4 separate regions of the Homo sapiens genome follow, and all the other regions are linked to region 2. Evidence: promoter capture Hi-C in 16 types of primary human blood cells and fetal thymus (Javierre and others, 2016). All regions are on one chromosome and are shown on one strand. The core of a region is centred on a gene start or on the middle of the fragment in contact, and the rest is flanking DNA. Distances in the headings are between cores, read along the strand shown.

Region 1 (3,218 bases), core at 39-2,538, 140 kb before region 2:
GTCCTTAAAAGCTGTAAAATTCCTAAAGATTTTAAATGCACCTTAATAGGACAGGCTACAAAGCAACCACTTGGTTTCACAGTAAGTCCCTAAAGGGAATATGGAGATGCTAAACTTCACTACCCTTTTCTTCGTATATAAGAAGCAAAAGAGGAAGTAACAAATCATACTGTATAACTGTGCACTTAGCATTAACCCTTTTAAAATTTACATTTCTAATGGATGTTGGGCTTAATACCTAGGTGGTAGGTTGATCTGTGCAGCAAACCACCATGGCACACATTTACCTACGTAAAAAACCTGTACATCCTACATATGTACCCTGGAACTTAAAATAAAAGTTGATGGGGAAAAAAAAGTACATTTAAAAAGAATCAGCTAATTATTACACTGCAAAAACAATATAACATATTTTCTTTTTTTCTTTTTTTTTTACTTTTTCTTTTTTTTTTTTTTTTTTGAGAGTCTCACTCTGTCGCCCAGGCTGGAGCTGCAGTAGCATGATCTGGGCTCACGGCGACCTCTGCCTCCCAGGTTCAAGCAATTCTCCTGCCTCAGCCTCCCTAGTAGCTGGGATTTCTGGTGCCCACCACCACGCCCAGCTAATTTTTTGCATTTTTAGTAGGGACGGGGTTTCACCATGTTGCCCAGGCTGGTCTCAAACTCCTGACCTCAGGTGATCCACCCACCTCGGCCTCCCAAACTTCTGGAATTACAGGCGTGAGCCACCGTGCCCAGCCCAATTTAACATAGTCTCAATGAGGGGAACAAATAGTTGTAAGCACACAATCAATGGCAGGGAATTACTTGTGAAGAGTGACCTATCAGCAGAATGTAGTAGTATGTTAAAGAGAAAAATGGGGCCAGGTGCAGTAGCTCACATCCATAAACCCAACAATTTGGGAGGCCAAGGTGTGAGGATTACTTGAGCTCAGGAGTTTGAGACCAGCCTGAGTAACATACCGAGACTCTGTCTCTACTAAATATTTTAAAAATTAGCCATGCATGGTGGCGCACAGCTGTAGTCCTAGCTATTTGGAAGGCTAGGGCAGGAGGATCACTTGAGCCAGAAGGTCAAAGCTGCAGTGAGCCACGATTGTGCCACTGTACTCCAGCTTAGGTGACAGGGTGAGATGCTGTCTTTAAAAGAAAAAAAATTAATTAAAAAATAGAAATACATACATATATAGAAAAATGGGAAGTACAATCTTAGTCCATATGACTACTTTAAATGTATGATACATCACTTGATGTACTAAGTATACTATCTAATTAAGTATGTCTAATTAATAATAGCTGTCTCAAAGTAAACTGGAAACCAAAAGGCTACTTTGCCCAATGTCTGTTTTTAAAACTACTGACAAAGAACATACAGAAAGGCCGAGCACGATGGCTCACACCTGTGATTACAGCACTTTGGGAGGCCAAGGCGGGTGGATCCCTTGAGCTCAGGAATTTGAGACCAGGCTGGGCAATAGGGTGAAACCCCGTCTCTACTAAAATTACAAAAATTAGCCAGGCGTAGTGGTGCATGTCTGTAATCTCAGCTACTCTGGAGGCTGAGGCACAAGAATCACTTGAACCCAGGAGGCAGAGGTTGCAATGAGCCGAGACTGCACCACTGCACTCCAGCCTGGGTAACAGAGAAAGCCTCTGCCTCAAAATAAAAAACAAATACCTCAAAAAGATGGCAATTAATCCAAATGTAGCCTGACTTTCTTAAACAATTCCTACTGAGTCTCTAAATACTACTTCTAAAGCAACAGAGTTCTTTAGACAAAGGGCTAATTCTAGGTCAGGGCAGAAAATTTATAAGATGAGCCTGGTACACCTTAGTATACCTTGTCCTTCCAGAAGCAAGAGAGTTATCAAAAACTGGCATGTCAAAAATTAAAAAAAAAAAAAAAAACTAGCAGAAGCCAACATGAAGAGGCTCCTATTGATTAAAGATGAGACAATCTGAACATCAAAAAAGACTATAATGGAGTGAAACATATCAAATGTTAAAAATTCATGAGTTCATAATGATACTTAAAAAAAAAACAGGAGTTCCCTTTGGAAAAAACTAGGGAATCAACTCATTCTTAAAATTGATAAATGAAAGAAAATACACATATATCATGTCTCTTCTGTAAAAACTGCATTTCAGGTTAACCAAATGGTTGTTATAGTCAACTATATGGAATGCTAGCAATAAATGTAGAAGAAACTATAGATTTAGAGTTTCACATACAACAGCAAATCCAGGCAATGATCAAAAATGGCTGTTGAAACCATCAAGCAAGTTTTAAAATGAATGGATCAGGATGAAAACACCTTTACACACTAATCAATATTTATAACACAGAAAGGAGACAACCAGACATCATGAGCATTATAATGTACTGTGTAGGAAGTACATAACGCCATCTATAAAATGTTCTTGCCAAAAAAAGAAAAAAATTGAATTTTATCAAATACCTAGCTCTAACTTCAAATTTACAGGTAATACAGGGGATAGAGGAATGTGTTAGATGACACCAGAAGATCAATCTGCCAAGTCTAGAATGTGAGAAAATTCTTTAGGACAAATGATCTATTTCTTCAACAAATAAACGCCAAGGGAGAAAAAAAAAGAAGTAAAGGATATTTCTATAAAGACTTAAGAAAGATATCAACTAAACGTAATGTATAACCCTGTTTGGATATAGCGTCAAATAAACCAGGTACAAAAGGGCATTTATGATACAATTGAGAAATATGAAAACTAACTGGATATTTCACAAGGAATAGTAAACTGTTACAAATTTTGGGGGGGACTGTGATAATAGTACTGTGTGTATGTAGGATTTTGTGTGTATGTATGTTTAATTCTTATCTTCAAAGATACATAAGTTTTTACAGATGAAATGCTACTATATTTGGGACTTATTCTAAAACAATCATGTCATTAAGCTGAATTTTGAGGAGCAATAAAAAAGAAAACAAAAATAAAAACTAAGGCCAGGTGTGATGGCTCACATCTGTAATCCCAGCACTTTGAGAGGCTGAGGCTGGAGGACTGCTTGAGCCCAGGAGTTTGAGACCAGCCTGGGCAACATGGGGAGCCCTCATCTCTACAAAAAATTTAAAAATCAGCCAGGTATGGTGGCACGCATCTGTGCTCCCAGCTACTCATGAGGCTGAGACAGGAGGCCTGCTTGAGCCCAGGAGGTCAAGACTGCAGTGAGCCAAGATTG
Region 2 (3,089 bases), core at 359-2,858:
TCAACCAGTCTCCATGGATGGACATATAGGTTGTTTCTAAGTTTTTAATATTTTATAGAATGTGTATGGAATGATATAGTGAGTAACCTCATGAATAATGTCATTTCACTTTTGTGGAGGTATATCTTCAGAGTAAATTTGTAGAAGTGGGCTTGTGGGTCTGAGGGTAAATGCATATGTAGTTTTGTTAGCACGTATGTGGTCAAAAGCATTTTTTGCCCTGAGGCAGGGGCATGTAGCTGGTGTGCTGAAGGAATAGCAAGGAAGCCACATGAAGAAACAGGTCAAAGTCACTGGCTCAAGATCCTATGTATTAGCAGCAGAGTTGAATTAGAGCCCTGGCCTCCATCTTCATTGCACTTAGACAACAAAGAATTCGTGCATGGAAAACAGGAATGTATTTGACCAAGGCCAGTGTTACCAGGGCCATTAGGAGGTCAGAGAAAGGAGAAGTTTATATGGACCCCAGTCAGGTAGAAAATACTTCACCCCAAAATTTACAGCATCAATAAGATTTGTAATGGCCCTCTGCTGTGCATAGAGCTTGTATTAGTGTGTTTTCTTTTCTTTTTCTTTTTTTTTTTTTTGAGACAGAATCTTGCTCTGTCATCTAGACTGGAGTGCAGTCGAATGATCTTGGCTCACTGCAACCTCTGCCTTCCAGGTTCAAGCGATCCTCTTGCCTCAGCCTCCTGAGTAGCTGGGATTACAGTGCCTGCCACCACGCCTGGCTAATTTTTGTATTTTTAAGTAGAGATGGGGTTTCACCACGTTGGCCAGGCTGGTCTGAAACTCCTGACCTCAGATGATCTGCCCGTCTCAGCCTCCCAAAGTGCTGGGATTACAGGTGTGAGCCACTGCATCTGGCCTAGTGTGTTTTTATACTGCTATAAAAAACTACCTGAGACTGGGTAATTTATTTAAAAAAGAGTTTTAATTGACTCAGTTCCACAGGCTATACAGGAGGCATGGCTGGGGAGGCCTCAGGAACCTACAATCATGGAGGAAGGGTGAAGGGTAATGTTAAAGATACATTTTGATCACTTCTAGGACCTTCTGATGTAAAGGCATATTTGTTAAAATCACACCCAGAGCTTTTATTGTAAGGGTACTTTTTTTTTCTTACACTTTCAGAACTTTCCAATGTAAATATGCATTTTGAGTACTTCTGGAATTTTTCATAGTTAAGGTACATTTTCTCTTTTGCAATTAGAAATATGTGGAATAGTTATATTTTTGCACCTTGAGAATATTTGGTTCCTAATCTTTTTTATCTAATGGTTTTAATGCTTCTGAATTTCCTTCCTGATATGTTGTTATGCTGGGGCTATGCAAAATGGTGATATTCTAATGCTATTATTTCTTTTTCATAAATATTTGGCATTCTTTTATAAAGCACATGCCTTTTCTATTCTTTTCATTTTATTTTTAAATGAAAAAGCTGTGTAGCATGTGGATTAGTCACTTCATACAATAGACGTTTGATTAGAAAAGTTGGGCGCAAATGAAATGTAAAAATATGGAGTCATAGCTTATATGTACCATGGTGGTTTACTCTTCAAAGGAATCTTACTGTAAATCTTTTTTTTTTTTTTTTTTTTTTTTTGCAAAGCTAGTAATCACCTCTTAATTTCTGTTATTCTTATAAACCTGAATTTTCATGTAGGGCACATTTATTCAACAAATTATTGAGTGCTTTTTATGTGCCAGACACTGTGGTCAGCACTTGGAATAGAGTAGTAAGCAGAAAAAACATACCTGTCCTTAATGTAGGGTACATCCTTACTGTTAAGAAGACAATGACAGTTGCCCAGAACCCCATGATTGAAGGCAGTTATGAAGCTATGTCTGAGGAATCTTGATTTGGAAGGTATTATAGGCTTTTCCTAACAACCTGGTTCAATAAATGCTTTGAAGTTCAGAACCCTAAGCAACCATTCTCTATGGGTCTGATGAAAAGAATATATGATATAATTGGCAGTATCCTCCTGATGTCTTTCTAATGTAATGTCAAATTATGATTGCAGAGCCCTTTCCTCAACGTGAAATTTTGCCTAATTTTTTGTCTTAGGATATTTCCTAATATTTCTAGGGTCCACACCTCCATAAGACATGTGCCAGAGGCATGATTCAGAGGCTCCTGAGACCTTGAGGATTCAGAGCTGTTGTGAGGACATCACCAGGCAAGCCTTGCTTCAGTTACTAGATTCCGTCTGGACTGGGTAGGAAAGAAATGCCACTTTCCTGGCATTATCAATGAAGTTAATGGAAGAGCAGAGAATTTCTAGAAGTTCTGAAAAGGCTTTGAGGCTTGTGACAATCTACCATAGCTCAAACTTGAGGAGACCACCTTTCATAAGATGGATTCAAATACAATACCTGCGCTGAAAGACTTTTTTTTGCTCCTGCTTTTGGGTTGGCTATGGGACTTGCATCATCTGGCTGAATTGGACCAGCAGTTCAGGGGATGAAGAGAGGTCTCTGCTGCTTCTCAGTCACATGGCATGGCAGAAATTTTCAGCCTTCTGAATCTTCCAAGGAACGGTCAAGTGGCACTTAGCTAGATAAATGTTTACTAGAGGCATCTCTTAAAGAGTTTTCCACCAAAGATAAGTCTTTTTCTTCTATTTACTCTATACTCCAGCAATATCTCCCTACAGATTAGTAAGATGAATGTGTCCACAGTTAGGTGTATACCTGTTTTTAAAGAAAAAAGATGTCTGTTAGTTACACTGCTATGACCTCAGGTTCCAGAATATTAAGGGAACATTCTTTCAAGAGATGTTTCACTTTGGACTAATCCGAAGTTTAGAAACCAGCTTATTGCCAAAGGGAAAAAGGATAGCCCAAAGGACAAGAAAACACTTCTCACTATGAATTGGTTTGGAAGTAACTTCTTCAGGTGTCCTGAGGATCTTTCCTTACTCAACATATACTCACCTCTGTTGTCACACATGTCATCTGAAGATGAACATTTTATTTCCAACTTGAGGTAGGGAATAGGGTGAGTTTTTCCCCTAGCTTTTGCTCTTTAGTTGGACTATCGAATCAACCTCTACTTATAAGGAACCAGGGAAAAGAAAACTGGG
Region 3 (3,078 bases), core at 418-2,917, 200 kb before region 2:
GCTCACGCCTGTAATCCCAGCACTTTGGGAGGCCGAGGAGGGTGGATCACGAGGTCAGGAGTTCGAGACCAGCCTGGCCAACATTGTGAAAACCTATCTCTACTAAAAATTCAAAAATTGGCTGGGCATGGTGGCAGGCATCTGTAATCCCAGCTACTCGGGAGGTTCAGGCAGGAGAATCGTATGAGCACGGGAGGCGGAGGTTGCAGTGAGCCGAGACTGCAACAGTGCACTCAAGCCTGGGTGACAGGGCAAGACTCCATCTCAGAAAATAAATAAATAAATAAATAAATAAATAAATAAAATAAAAAAGATAGAAAGGGTCATGTTAGATCATTCTCAAGGCCCTGCCAGCAATAGAGCATTGTGGCAAAGTTTCTGCAGTTTGAAGATTACTTCGTTAGTACACAAAGAACATTTATTCACAGCACGAATTTCAGTCGGGGCAGGCATATTGTATGGTGACAAGTAGAGCACAGACTTTGGAATCAGGCTCCCTGAGTTCAATCCTGGCTTACAGCGTACCTCTGGTTTCATGTAAGCATGCTAATACCACTTTGTATGTCTATCATGAGAGATAAATGAAATCACCGATGCAAAGGACTCATTGCAATGCCTAGAATTTTATTATTATGAGATATAAAAATTCCATTGTGAAGCTAGCAGGGAAAAAAATGCATGAACAAAACCATTTCTCTCTTTGCCTGATTTCAGTTTTTAATTTTATCATGAATTCATAATCTGCTATCAACCTTTTGCGACAGAAAATGCAATCTCAGAACTCATTCTTTTTCGCCATGACCTCTTAGGCTAAAATGAAGTGAACAAAGCAGAAATCTCTATTTTATCACAGAAGCATGGATAATTGATTGTTTTTTAAGTGATGAGGGAAAAGCAAGGAGGTTTCTCACTAAGCCCTGGTTCACACAGTGAATGTGAACACTGACTCCCTCCTCCACTGCTCCCCCCACCCCTGCTCACACCCTTCCTGCCTCCTGCCTGCTGCTAGTATCTCTCTAGCACTGTCCTAGCTCCTATGATGTACCCTCGCAGGAGTAGCTTCAATAGAAGGAAAAAATACACTTTCTATTGATTTCATTTCATATACATTTATGCTGTTGGTTGGCTGCTTTTATGTTACATCCAACCTTCAGAATTCAGGTTGGATATGTCACGTCATGATGCGCAGGGGGCATCGCGGCGTCAAAAAGAGACTGAGGCCTGCAGAGAGAGCGCCCCTGGACTTTAATGGGAGCCGAGTACAGTCAAAGGGAGAATTTTGCTTTCAGTGTATTTAACACTGCTTGCCTGGAGTTCTGCCTCCACAGGGGCTAACATCTGTGTAAAGACAGCAGGGAGAGGAGCTCCTGACCTAGGCCCTGCTGAGAACAAAGCCAGGACACCTGAGAATTGAAGGGCTCCCATCCTTCAAAGCTTTCCTAAGACAAGCATTGCTTATCATTCCCCTGCATGTCTTGATTGTTTTACTACCTATGCATGCATCACTAAACAATTTATACATAGCATTACTGTGCAAGTTTATAAAGTTGATATAAATGGCATCACATTATATGCCTTCTATTGCCACTTGCTCTTTTTGATCAACATTATGTTTTTGAGATTTATCCACATGGATCTAGTTCATTCATTTTAATAACTGCATAGCATTTTATTGCTCATGATACATTTCATTTCTTGAGTGATGGGTAACTTTGGTGTATGTTATATCCTCTTCTAAACTTTATAGCAGTCTGAAATATTTCATGATTTAAAAAATAAAGTGAGTGCTCTCTTTTGGGTTTTCCTGGATAACATAATGCTTCTGGCTGTTAATGGCTGTCCTAGTAGGCAAGAAAGCACAGCTTCCCACATATCCACATTCCTGGCTCTGTAAGCTTGAGCTCAGCCAGTAATCGTTTTGTAATAATACCTAGTGGTATTATTGAACATTTATGCTATGCCAGGCACTGTGCCCAGTGCTTTCAGAGGGTGATCTTGTTTAATCCTCATAACAATCCTACGGGGAGGAGGGTGTCATTATTATCCTCTGTTTACAGCTAAGAAAACTGAGGCTCAGAAGTTTGGTAACATGGCCAACTTCTCACAGCTAGGAAGGTGCAGAGCCAGGATTTGAAAGCAGGCCTCTAGGATTTGTGTTCTCACAACCATACCATTGCTTCCTAGTTGGGAGAGTGAGGGATGCCTTCGGCTTGGTTTGGATGCTGTCAGTTTGCCTGTTCCCTCCCACAAGATACTCTCACCCAGACACCAATTGTAGGATGGAAATGTAAAAGGAGCACTGAGAATGTAACCTTCATCCAAATCCTTCTTCATTACAGTTTTGATGAAGAAACCACCCTTTCAGATGCACCACTGAATGTAGGCATTTGCCCAGCCTCCATCCTTCCAAACAAAGCTCACTAGGGCTTGGGACCTACCACAAAGGTTGGCTGACAGGCTTTTTGGGGCCAGACCTTTAGATCTTTGAGATTTTTCTCTAAATGAGGTTATACTTAAAGTCACTGTCATTCTTATTCTTTTCCCTCTTCACTTGTCTTCCTTCTTTTCTTCCTTTTCTTTAAATTCAAATAGCATTTACATTATTTAAGGTGAGGATTTAAAATATGCCAGTTTCATAGTTCCATCTTAGTATTTTTTCTGAAAAAATTTTATGTATATTTAGGAGCCTTTAAAACAGACGTGGCCTGGACGACTGAGAAGGTTTGCTTTGACTCTGCTGCAGAGGGAAGGTCCAGAGTCTCGTAGGTCCCACTGTGTGCTGAGAATTCCATCTGATGCCCTGGATAACCCTCAAGCCTTTGCAACAGCCAGACTAAATAAAGACTCTTGAGTGATTCTGAATTCACTATCTGCAGAAGGCCTGTTAAAGGGTAACATGAAGGATATCAGTGCTTGTGTTTGTTTGTTTCACTGTATGTCCAATCCAAATTAGCACTGGCTGTGGATGAGTAACCACTGAAAATTGCTGTTGCTCAGCCAAGCTGACAGGTGACACTTCTCAACTGCAACCTTCCTCCAAAACCTACTATTAATTCTATTCTGCAACTGTGCTACCAA
Region 4 (3,489 bases), core at 435-2,934, 180 kb before region 2:
ATCTTTATTGCAAAAGTCAACATGCTTCTTAGAAATTCAGATTGTAATTGATAAAACAAACATTACATATATGAATTTAAATGTATAAACAGTTAGAAATTCAACAATATCTCCTATTATACTATTACACAAGTTCACAATTTTGTAAAAACTATAATACAGGCATACTATACATCAAGAGGAACCACTATTCCTTTTCACATGATTTTTTTCTTTTTTGAAATAATGATCCATCACCAAGGACCCCTTTCACCTTAACAAGACTGTTTTCCAATTTATCATCTTAGCTGGTAACAACATTTCTTCAATGTTACATAAAGAAATTGAGGGAAATTTTGCAATACTTGGGGTTACCTTTTTATCTTGGACAGTGATCCACTAGTATATCAGGCTGACCTAGTCAACTGGTGGCTATTATTGCTGATCAGCTACTTAAAAAGATGTCATACACATTAAGAGGGACAGAACTTGCTTTAGATGCTGTATGTTATTTCTGTAAATGAAGATGCCAAGAAAACATGTATGGCAGTTATTCACTTTTAAGTGAAATTCTAACAGTTGAAGATTTGATGGTGGAAGTAAATCCCAAAGGGGGCAGGGGATATATATAAACTATTTTATGCTAACCTGAAGTTTTCCAGTATTATAATTAACTCACTTCAAATTCATCTTTGAGTCAAACATGTTTTAAAATTCTTTGAAAGCACACTTTTAAAGTATTTTTAGTCCTGTTTAAGGTGTACTGAAAACTTATAGAAAGGGCCTCAAACCTTACTGAAAAAACTGTTTTTCACTTTAACACACTTCTATCTTCTGCCCCCAATACTAAAAAGTCAAATTTTCAACTTTTTACTGAGAGTGAAATAAGATGTCCATTTTGAGGTCAAAAAAATCATATGAAAAGGAATCTCATTCTGTTGAACTGTCTACTGAAATTTTTCTTAGAGTTCCATTTATTTACTGTAATTTTCAGTTTCCAAATACAAAAATACAACAATTCTTATTGAAATCTATACGCTGGTAGTTTTAGTACACAAAAAAAAAACCCAAACAAATTATTTACAAAATTATACAGTTTAAGAAAAAACTTTGTACAAAAAATATATAAATCCTTTGTTCCCTCTATCACGTTTAAACTGTCAGGACTCAAAATATTCACCACAATGAATCTTTCAAAATATATACTGACTGAGCCACAGACATCAAGAAAAATTTCATTAGAGATGATGGAGGAGTAAGGAGCAAGATTGTGTATTCTAGATACACCATTCTGATGTTTTCCTTCTTTTATAAGCTTATTTTACCTTCAGTGTTACTAGAAATATAACAATAACCTAGAAAAAGGAAGTCCTCATTATTATGAAAGAAAATTATATGAACTTAAAAATGACCCTGGTTTGACACATCATTCCAGGAAAACATGTAGAAGAATAAAGATTATCAGAACGTGGGATTTAACTTCTTATAGCTAAGTAAATCTAGAATCCTGATGGTTTTAAGTTCTTAGTGAATAGTTTCTATATTGAGAAATTGTCTTTACCTCAGCAAACAAAATCCTTGATATAGTGGTCACCAAGACCCTTTTGGAGACAACAGGAGGTTTCAAATTTTCATACCACACATATATAAAAACACAGATGTGTATATCCTTGAAAAAGTGACAGCCTAGGTACATTAATCATTTTATTTTCCCAGGGGTCAGTACAGTGTAGTGTTGCTCCTCTGCTTTTCCATCTAACATTCAGAACACGAAGACATAAATTTACATATATATTTTACTTAACAGATACTCTACTCTATACAGTGTACAGTAAAAATGCACACAGTAAAGGAAACTGTCTACTGAGGGATGCGTATGTTCATGGATAGCAACAAGCTACAAAATTATGAAAAAATAAGGTCATCTGAACAAAGTCATATATGACTCCCATTTATTACTAGCATACTCAGCCCTCAACCCCCTCCCACCTCCACCCCCCACCCCCCAGTCACCTCACCATCATGGTTTAAATTTAGGAAAAGAATTTCAGACATTTTTAAACCCTTCTGTGTAACTATACTGAACTGAAGCTTCAAAAGAGGGAAAAAATAAAGCTGGTGATTCTCTTCTCCCCAAAATCCTTCCATCATTCTCATCAAAACATCACTTATTTATCCAGGTGCTGGTTTGAACCTTTTATTGGAGACTGCCTGCGGTTGCCCAAATGAACCACTTATATCAATGATGACTAAGTCAGGCCTATTAATAGAAAGGCAAGAGGAAGAAAAGGGGGACGAGAAAGGGGCAATAGGTGAAAGCCTTTTACATTCTGAGTTATAAAAATTTTTAAAAAGACCAGCCGAACCAGCGCTCACTAAATATCAAAGCAAACTAAGAATCAGTAGCAGGAAAAGTCCAGGAGTTCATATGACAAGAGAATGGAAATACTATAGAGCTAGCTACCATTGCTGTAGCATTTAAGAACACACAGTTTGTTGTGATTTTCACTGAACTAGTACTACCACACATAAAAACCATGAAAAACAAATTTAGACTGAATACAAATTGGGCTCCTCCAAAGTAAAAAAAAAAAAAAATTAAAATTAAAATAAACATATTTTTCTTCCAAGACCACTCTTGAAAGCAAAAGGGTATTTTAATTACAAATATTTCCTACTGTCTGATGACCCATCCATAACAACTGAGAGTTAAAAGATTACAGGTGATTTTGACATTTAATTAAATTTTATCAGTAGATTATAATCCAAAATAAAATTTCTGAACACCCTGTCATTTACATCATAATCCAACACCAACAGCAACAAAAAAAAGGTGGTGTGGAAAATAAGGCTCTAGAGATTATCCATGTCATTGCTGTGGATCTTCACAACTGTGTAAAAGTCACTAGGCCTTTGGTGCTTTAATATCATGTACAGTTATGAGATGTGTTTAAATAGCAAACTTGCTGTTCTTGAACCTACTGTGTTGAAAAGAAAAATAAAAAAATTTTTTTTGGCTCATTGACTTCTTTTAAATAATTTTTAAAAGTTGTTCTTCTAAACAATATTCCTAAAAATTATACAGCTAGCATCAGATTTCATCTTCGCCATGAGCGAGACTCATATTCATCTTCATCTTCATCGTCATCATCAGGCAAAAACAAATCTGAGGTTTCTGTTTCCTGAAGAAAGAGAGGTTAAAATCTGCTTAGTGGCACAAGAATGGTAAGTAAAATACTTTTTAGGCCAAAGGACAAACAGGCTAGTATACAAAGCCCAGGCTAGATTTCATAAGGGATGCATGCAAGAGTATCTTTCAGGGCAAAAAAAAAAAAAAGCCCAAAATATTTTTGTAAATGAATATGAATTCTTCTCCCCTGCTAATTTTGCTACTTTTAATAGGAGATTTCTACTCTAATATCATCAGGAAAATAATGTGGACATTTAGTACAGAAAATTTAAAAAAGACTATGAGATACATTTCTGATAAATTAAAATTAATTTTATTCT

What was found. The method cuts DNA at HindIII sites, captures the fragments that hold promoters and counts their contacts. A CHiCAGO score of 5 or more calls a contact.
Region 1: a contact is called between a fragment that was not itself captured here and the fragment with the promoter of PLAC8L1 in region 2, in 1 of 17 cell types (activated CD4 T cells). The highest score is 7.7, in activated CD4 T cells.
Region 3: a contact is called between a fragment that was not itself captured here and the fragment with the promoter of PLAC8L1 in region 2, in 1 of 17 cell types (non-activated CD4 T cells). The highest score is 5.1, in non-activated CD4 T cells.
Region 4: a contact is called between a fragment that was not itself captured here and the fragment with the promoter of PLAC8L1 in region 2, in 2 of 17 cell types (activated CD4 T cells and naive CD8 T cells). The highest score is 8.5, in activated CD4 T cells.

The regions. Positions count from the first base shown.
Region 1 is chr5:146,246,926-146,250,143 of GRCh38, reverse strand. All of the region lies in intron 8 of RBM27-POU4F3 (RBM27-POU4F3 readthrough), which reads right to left. All of the region lies in intron 8 of RBM27 (RNA binding motif protein 27), which reads right to left. Among named protein-coding and RNA genes, the nearest start is that of RBM27-POU4F3, 45 kb to the right of the region's middle. The HindIII fragment of the contact is 5,614 bases long and covers 1-3,218 here.
Region 2 is chr5:146,104,096-146,107,184 of GRCh38, reverse strand. PLAC8L1 (PLAC8 like 1) reads left to right here and starts at 1,608. Exons shown (of 4, transcript NM_001029869.3): 1 at 1,608-2,992. The coding sequence starts at 2,874. The HindIII fragment of the contact is 7,482 bases long and covers 1-3,089 here.
Region 3 is chr5:146,306,882-146,309,959 of GRCh38, reverse strand. All of the region lies in intron 18 of RBM27-POU4F3 (RBM27-POU4F3 readthrough), which reads right to left. Among named protein-coding and RNA genes, the nearest start is that of POU4F3, 30 kb to the left of the region's middle. The HindIII fragment of the contact is 461 bases long and covers 1,437-1,897 here.
Region 4 is chr5:146,285,619-146,289,107 of GRCh38, reverse strand. The region is part of intron 18 of RBM27-POU4F3 (RBM27-POU4F3 readthrough); the gene reads right to left. RBM27 (RNA binding motif protein 27) reads right to left here. Exons shown (of 21, transcript NM_018989.2): 21 at 1-3,161. The coding sequence ends at 3,078. Among named protein-coding and RNA genes, the nearest start is that of POU4F3, 51 kb to the left of the region's middle. The HindIII fragment of the contact is 776 bases long and covers 1,297-2,072 here.